2 separate regions of the Homo sapiens genome follow, and region 1 is linked to region 2. Evidence: promoter capture Hi-C in human tissues and cell types (Jung and others, 2019). All regions are on one chromosome and are shown on one strand. Each heading gives the region's core, a stretch centred on a gene start or on the middle of the fragment in contact. The rest is flanking DNA. Distances are from core to core; before and after follow the strand shown. Region 1 overlaps MEIOB (meiosis specific with OB-fold). Region 2 holds the start of HS3ST6 (heparan sulfate-glucosamine 3-sulfotransferase 6).

Evidence for each region. The method cuts DNA at HindIII sites, captures the fragments that hold promoters and counts their contacts. A contact is called where the count stands out against the background at its distance.
Region 1: a contact is called between a fragment that was not itself captured here and the fragment with the promoter of HS3ST6 in region 2, in 5 of the 25 tissues and cell types used here (IMR-90 fibroblasts, dorsolateral prefrontal cortex, lymphoblastoid cells and 2 more).

What each region holds. Positions count from the first base shown.
Region 1 is chr16:1,832,518-1,836,330 of GRCh38, forward strand. MEIOB (meiosis specific with OB-fold) reads right to left here. Exons shown (of 14, transcript NM_001163560.3): 14 at 1,469-1,849. The coding sequence ends at 1,739. It also overlaps a transcript of FAHD1 not described here. Among named protein-coding and RNA genes, the nearest start is that of FAHD1, 7.2 kb to the left of the region's middle. RefSeq lists a silencer at 331-625. The HindIII fragment of the contact is 8,140 bases long and covers 1-3,813 here.
Region 2 is chr16:1,916,178-1,920,118 of GRCh38, forward strand. It overlaps HS3ST6 (heparan sulfate-glucosamine 3-sulfotransferase 6), which reads right to left and starts at 2,238. Exons shown (of 2, transcript NM_001009606.4): 1 at 1,734-2,238. The coding sequence starts at 2,146. RefSeq lists enhancers at 2,331-2,892, 2,893-3,456, 3,457-3,941. The HindIII fragment of the contact is 13,256 bases long and covers 1-3,941 here.

The DNA.
Region 1 (3,813 bases), core at 281-2,780, 84 kb before region 2:
GCTCACGCCTGTAATCCCAGCACTTTGGGAGGCCGAGGTGGGTGGATCACTTGAGCCCAGGAATTCAAGACCAGCCTGGGCAAAATGCCAAGATCACTGTCTCTACAAAATGTTTTAAAATTAACCGAGTAAGGTGGCTTCTCCTGAGCTCCTGGACACGGGGCTCAGTGGAGGGGGCACCATACCCACTCTTGCTGAACCAACAGTGGGAGCCAAGCCAGCACCAACCACGACACCCTCACTTCTCTCCTCTCCTTCCTTCCCTGTCCACCCTCCCCATTCACCTGGCTTCACAAACCCCCCAGTTCTCCCCAAGGGAGGATGGAAGGCCTGTTCTGCACAACTAGGTCAAGTCGTTCATTACCTTATCACCACAATTTGGACACTTAGGGGTGAACCTGCATCCCTCCTCTGTGGCTGCACATGGTAAAAGCCAGATAAAACATGACTGACGATGGTTTATCTCCCAACACCAGCCTTAGGAAACAGTTTCATATACTCACTTTTTCCTTTTTTTTCAATCCTGTGGTGGAGGGCATGTAGCCTTCTAAAGTACCAGGTCAAACCTCCCAGGCCGTGGGTCAACACTGACCTTAGCGGTGGGTCTTCACAGCTGGAGTCTGCGCCCTGAAGCAAGTGACTCTCAATGGTGTGCAGTTGAGCCGTTTACTTTGTGGCTGCTGCAAAGCAAACAGATAAAGTGGCAGCTGTCGTCCTCATGTCCTGAGTAGGTCCCCCTCAGAGTTCTGAGACCCAGGCATGCTCATGAACCTTTTGAAGTTGGTCTCCTCCCAGTTGATTCAGACTCAGTCATGTCAGCCCTGAGCCAGCAAGCCTCCACAAGCACTGGGCACTCCAGTGTGTCACCAGAGAAGACCAGGGACTAGAAGAGCCCCAGGTGCTCAAAGCAGTCGCACAGGATTGCCCACGACTTTGGCTATTCCCACCCAGCACCAAGAGCCCCTTGCCCTCATCCTGTCAGATCTGTCAGATGACGAGTCACCACCCAGCTCTCAGAAAGTAGTCTTTAGAGGTACTTTTTTTTTTTTTTTTTTTTTTTTTAAGACAGAGTCTCGCTCTGTCGCCCAGGCTGGAGTGCAGTGGCTGGATCTCAGCTCACTACAACCTCCTCATCCCAGGTTCAAGAGATTCTCCTGCCTCAGCCTCCCGAGTAGCTGGGACAACAGGCACGTGCCACCACACCCAGCTAATTTTTTGTATTTTTAGTAGAGATGGGGTTTCACTGTGTTAGCCAGGATGGTCTCGATCTCCTGACTGCCTTGGCATCCCAAAGTGCTGGGATTACAGGCATGAGCCACCGTGCCCAGCCCTTGAGGTCCTACTCTTTTTCCAGGGAACCAAGACAAATAATAAACTGGCTTAAGAAAATAAATCATTCACTCAGGATTAAGAAACTCACTCAAAGCCGTTCAACTACATGGAAAAGAAAATAAATCATTCAAATCTGTAGAAGATTAAATCTGTTTATTAATTCATGTAAACATTTTCCAACTTGGGAGGAGACAAGGCAAAGACAGTAGGAGGCCTTCTAAGAAGGGAGGTCAGATGAGAGAGGCCTTCAGACTCACCCAGACCACCTCCACCATAACAATTTCTAGAAACATGTTCACCACATGTAAACAAAATGCAATTTTCCCCATAATTTTCAAATTAATATTCCATTTTAAAGGGAGTTAAAACTCTTATACTTTTCCAGAGTTCAAAATGATAGACCGTTTTAAACATGTTTTTGTCCAGACAAGTTTCTGCTTGCCTCAGTAGGATCTGCAAGCTTGCACGAGAGTACACTAATTTTCAATCCACTCCTTGCTCTGTGTGATAGAACGAACTGCGAGGAGAAACAGAAAAAGAGACAAAAGGTTAATTTTTAAAATCCCCTTGTATATCAAGTTGAAAAATCAATGATCACGAATAGAGAACTGCAATGAAAGTTTTGTTTACAGATACTAATATAAACTTCCATTAGAGCTGTAAGATGATGGGAAGAGTTCCAGTCTCGGAGTACAGTTAATTTACAGGCCCAGCTTCTGACTGATTTTGTAAAAATTTTGTCACTTTTCATGCTATTTCTCTCAGGTAGGAAAGTTGGGATTAAAAGTCTAATGTGGCCGGGTGCTGGTGCAGTGGCTCACGCCTGTAATCCCAGCACTTTGGGAGGCCAAGGCGGGTGGATCACCTGAGGTCAGGAGTTCGAGACCAGCCTGGCTAACATGGTGAAACTCCCATTTCTACTAAAAATACAAAAAATTAGCCGGGCATGGTGGCACACACCTGTTATCCCAGCTACTCAGAAGGCTGAGGCAGGAGAATCCCTTGAACCCGGGAGGCAGAGGTTGCAGTGAGCAGAGATTGTGCCATTGCACTCCAGCTTGGGCAACTAGAGCGAAACTCTGTCCCCCCCACCCCCCCCCACTAAAAAAAATGTCTAATGCAGGGCTGGGTGAGGTGGCTCATGCCTGTAATCCCAGCACTTTGGGAGGCCAAGGCAGGTAGATCACTTGAGGCCTGAAGTTCAAGACCAGCCTGGCCAATAAAGTGAAACCCTGTCTCTACTAAAAATATAAAAATTAGCCAGGTGTGGTGGTGCACACCTGTGGTCCCAGCTACTCGGTGGCTGAGGCGGGAGGATCACTTGAGCCTGGGAAGGTTGAGGCTGCAGTAAGCTGTGATCGCACCACGTGCTCCAGCCTGTGTGACAGAGCGAGCAGAGTGAGACTGTGTCTCAAAAAAAAAAAAAAGTATAACATATGAAAAAGGGCTTAATGTGTGTTCAAACTACCAACTGTGATAGACTTTAAGCTGTAGCAGGGACTCAATCTGTGAGACTACAGGAATATGATGACATAATTTAATAATAGTCTTATTTTAATAGTCTTATTTTTTATAATTTATACAGCACTTTAACCAACATTTTATTTAATATAGAGTGGAAGGACATATCAACCACTTTAATTTCAAGACTGAGAGAAAAAAAAGTACCAACATCAGGGAAAACTGGGAAAGACTTTAAGTGGGCAATAACAATAAGTGGGTACCCTTTCAATGGAATGTTGTGGTAGTCTGACATTGGCTAGAACACGTTCAGAGCTGTCTGATTCTACAGGGGCTACACCTCCCATTGCACGGACTGAGCTGTTTTAGAACTAGGTTGTAGAAAGCTGACAGTGATTCGAATGACCCTGCTCATGGAATCCCCATGAAGTCTGTCTGAGTGAAGATGCACTGCTTCTGCCCTATAGAGGAGCCCAGAGGTTCATCTACAAGCAAACCCATTCAGCATTTTGCATTGCCTGCCTATGTATCTATTCTTCCAATTCCTTTTTCTTTTTTTTTTTTTTTGAGACACAGTCTCACTCTGTCACCCAGGCTGGAGTGCAGTGGTGAGATCTCGGCTCACTGCAACCTCTGCCTCCCAGGTTCAAGCAATTCTACTGCCTCAGCCTCCTGAGTAGCTGGGATGACAGGCACCTGCCACCATGCCTGGCTAATTTTTGTAGTTTTAGCAGAGATGGGGTTTCACCATCTTGGACAGGCTGGTCATGAACCAATTCCCCTTTGAATCCTTCTTCTCCCCTATATCTTACTGGTCCCCTCATTAATTAATGAGTTAAATCTTCAACATGTGTTATTTTTGTATGCATCATGGTTTTTGGATTTTGGTTTTGGATTTTACATCTTTTTATTTGTAAAATACTGTGTTACCTAATGCACGAAGCAGCTTGTCCATAATTATGAATATTTGTTAAAGCCACCTGGAACATCTGTTACACACATTCTCTGGGAAAGTGCAGT
Region 2 (3,941 bases), core at 988-3,487:
TGAGGACACTTGCAATGCGGAAGCTCAGCAGGCCCAGCTCTACTGGCTCTGCACCGCCCAGTGAGGGGTCAGCACAGTTGGTCCAAGGGACAATACCAGATTAATGAGGCAGAAGCCACGGGACTGACCCCTTGGAATTCTCCACACCCACCCCTCCCCCTTCTAAAAAATGAGGACGTCAAGAATCTACCAGAGCAGTCACTCTCCTGTACCCCCCTCCAACCCTGGGCACGTCAGTGTCCCCGGAACCCCACCCCCAGGCTAAGGAGCTGACTCCCAAGTTGGGCCTGGCCTTGGCTGCCTCTCATCCTCCCCAAACTGATCCCCCAGCGCTGGACACATGCCCAGGGCGGGCCTGGACTGGCCTCAGGAGCCTGGGCTCTTCCAGAACCCTTTAGGGCTAAACCCAACCCTAGCTTCCCCTGTGGCTCCTCACGGCCCAGCTCAGATCCCACCCCCAGTCTCTTGCTGTCAAAGCTCATGGGGCTCAGGGGTGGCTCTGAAGTGTTTACTCCAGTTAACTGTGCATCCTTAACCCAAAGCCCTTTCTCCCCTTCCCCCTCCCGCCTCTCCCCTCCTCCCCCGTCTCGCCACTCCCCTCCTCCCCAGCTTCTAGCTTGGTAGCCCCTCCTACCCTCCTCCCTGCAGCAGGGATTAGGGATGCATTCTGACCCCTGCCTGCCGTCAGGGGAGTGAGGTCTCTCCCTGGAGCCTGAGCTGAGGATGCCCAATTCAGCCAGGTGAGCCCCGGGATGGACTCCATGTCCCCTAGCCACCACCTGACTTCCCCAGCACCCCACACTGGCACCAGCCCTTCAGATCTCAGAAGCGAGCCACCCTATTCTCACGGAGCCCCTTCCTGCCTGCCCTCCAAACCCAAGAGTAGTTTTAGTACAAAAGGCAAAGTTAACAAATAGGGGTAGGCGTCAGGGAAGGAAGAGGATCAGAGGATCGGGAACGGAGAAACTGGAGCACCTGGAGAAGCGTCTGGGTCCTGCCACCCCCACTGACTCCCCAACTGGCCTTGGGCAGGGTCCTCTCTGCAGGCGCTGGGTCCAAGCTTGGGGATGAGCAGCCACCAGCGCGGGCTGCTTCAGCTGAGGCTGCCGCACCCCCACGTCCATCCTGGGTAGAGGCAGGACAGCCACAGAGCCCCATGCACGGGGCTGGACTCACCCTGGGCACTCACCTAAAGGCAGTCTCCTCCTTTCCAAAGCCCAGACTTTCTCCGGACTCCCAGGACCACCAACAAGGGTTCCTGTGCGCAGACTCGGGGGTCTTGGGGAGGAAGGACGCTTTCTAGGTGGCTGCCTGGAACCTGGAGGCCCCTTTCTACAGTACCTGGCCAGCGGTCGGTCACACCTGAGTGCCCAGAGTGAGCGGGCGGCAGAGGCATTTCTGACGCTGCCAGGTAATCCCACGGGCTGGAAACGACCTCTGGGCTGGGAAGCCACCGCCTCCCCCAGTCCTGCTGGGTCCCTCAGCAGAGAGAACGGAACCGGGGCTTTCCCCACAGTTTTCAAAGTTTCAGGGAATCCTAGCCAAGTATCATTCCTTCTTCCGGAGCCGGGACCCCAGGTCAAGCCTGGGGCCCCCACAGGGCGGTCCCAACCCCACTGCCCGGAGCGCACCCCTGCTCCCTGGGAGGCAGGATATCGTGCCGCTGCTCCCTGGGGCGCACGATACCCTCCCCAGGAAGGCGCCGGTCAGGGCGGACGGGCCAGGGTGCTCACCGGTACCAGGCGAGGCCGCGCTCGTAGCACCTGTCGAAGAAGTGGGGCTCAGAGCCCAGCGCGCGGACGTCGGGGTGCAGCCGCAGAAACTCCAGCAGGGCGCGCGTGCCGCCCTTCTTCACGCCAACGATGAGCGCTTGCGGGAAGCGCCGGCGGCCGGGACCGCTGGCCAAAGGCAGGCCGGGTGCTCCCGGGCGGTGGACGGAGCTGGACGGCTCGGAGGGCGCGGGGGCCGGCGCGGGGGCGCGGGCGGCCGGCGGGCAGCGGCCGGGGAGGGCGCAGAGGCAGTAGGCGCCGAGCACCAGGGCCACGAGCAGCATCGGCGCGCGGGACGCCCGCAGAGCGGCCCCTTGCCCGGCCCCTGCGCCCTGGCCGCCCCCGGCCCCGCCGCCCAGGCCGCCGCTACCTGCCATGGGGTCGCGCCGCTCCAGGCCCGGGAGCGGGGGCAGCAGGCGGGCGCGCATCTCGGCCCGCGCGCCGCTCAGTCCGTGGGTGCCCGGCTTGTGCTCTGCGCCCGGCGGTCCCGCAGCCTGGGAGCGGGCGCGGGGCGGGACCGGGGGCGGGGTCTGGACGCCCTCCCCCCTCCCCCTCCCCCGCCCACTCCGCCTCCGAGGCCACTGCCTGGGCTGGACCCGCCGGCAGCCGCCACCACCCGGGCGCGACTCGAGCTGCCGGGACCACCAGGACGCTCCTGCTCCGAGATCCCAGGCCCTGGCTCGCTTGACTCCGGCATCTTCACCTCTGCGCGGGGAGGATGCGGCGGCGGTGGCCGTTCGGGACGCAGGGCAGGGACAGGGCGGCGCGCGGGCCTCGGGACCCTCTGTTTGAAGACCGATCCCCTTCCCCCCCCACCCCACTCCGGGACGTGCGCGGCAGGTGCATAGGCCAAGCCTTGGCCTGCAGGAGCGGGAGCCTCATCGCCAGGCCAAGGGGACCCAGGAAAAGCGTCGATCCGGGCACTCGGCCTGCCAAGGGAGAAAGAGGCCGGGACAGCACCCTAGTGTGCAGAGAGGGATCCCAGAACGTGTGGGGGGAGTCTGCGGCCGGGAATGGCGTGCGTCCTGCACTCCCAGCTGACAGTCACACATCGGGTCACAGCCTGGCCGCTGAGAGGTCAAGTCACCTCTGGTTACTGTTTTAGAATGGAGGGGACAGGCTCAGAGAAAATAGGTTTCCCTCCCAGGGGCCCAGTGGTGAACTGAATTCAGGCCTGAGACATACTCTGTCTACTAAGTCACCCCATCTGCCCAGCCTTGGTCCACCTGGCACTGCCCAGAGACATCAGTGATGCATTTCGGAAGCTGGCAAAGTGGACCCCACTGGAGTACAAAGGACTCAGGGACCCCTGTGCTGGGGAAGAGAAGGAGCCCAGGACCTCCCCCAGGGGCTGCCTCTGAGGGGCGTGAGATTCAGGGGCCTCTCGGGTGGGACCTGCGGGGGCCGCTAGACACTGCGGGAACTTCACATCCCCAACGCCCAGCAGCAGCCTGCAGGGAAGGCAGGGGAGGCGAGCCGGGCTCAGAGAGGGCGAGCAACTTGCCCCATCCGAAGGCAAAGGTGGTATGAGACCCGGGTCCTCTCTCCACCTCTGCCCCAGCCTTCCTGGCCACAGGGCTGGCGCCAGGCAGGCACGGCACAGGCTCCCGGCAGAGGCCCAGCCTCTTCCCAGCCAAGGGCTTGCGGCCCCTGTCCTGGGCTCTGCTGCGTTAATGAGCCGTTCCAGCCCTGATGGCATCTGGACAAGTCCCAGCAGCCGGGCTGCCTCAAGGGGCCGAAGGCCTCCACGACCCACAGACATTCCGGAGCTCCTACCCAGCAGCAGCCCTGGCCAGAGGGGGCCACACGGGGCTGACGGGGTGAAGACCACTGACCAGTCCCCCAGCCCCGGCTCCAGACATGCGGGCTGCACCTGCTCATCTGGGCAAGCCTCTGCAGGAGCCCCGTGGGCAGGCAGCGGGCACAATGCGAGGAGAGCATGCTGGCTTATGCTGGGTCACAGGAAATTCTTCTTCTGGTCTAGCTTGAAACGGTATTGTTCCCAACGGGCTGGCTCGGGGTGGGGGCTGGGGTCCCACCCTGCAGCATCCACCCCACAGTCTCAGCAGTCCCCACGGTCTCAGGAGTCCTCACGGTCTCAGGAGTCCCCACGGTCTCAGCATCCCCATGGTCTCAGCTGTCCCCAGGGTCTCAGGAGTCCCCACGGTCTCA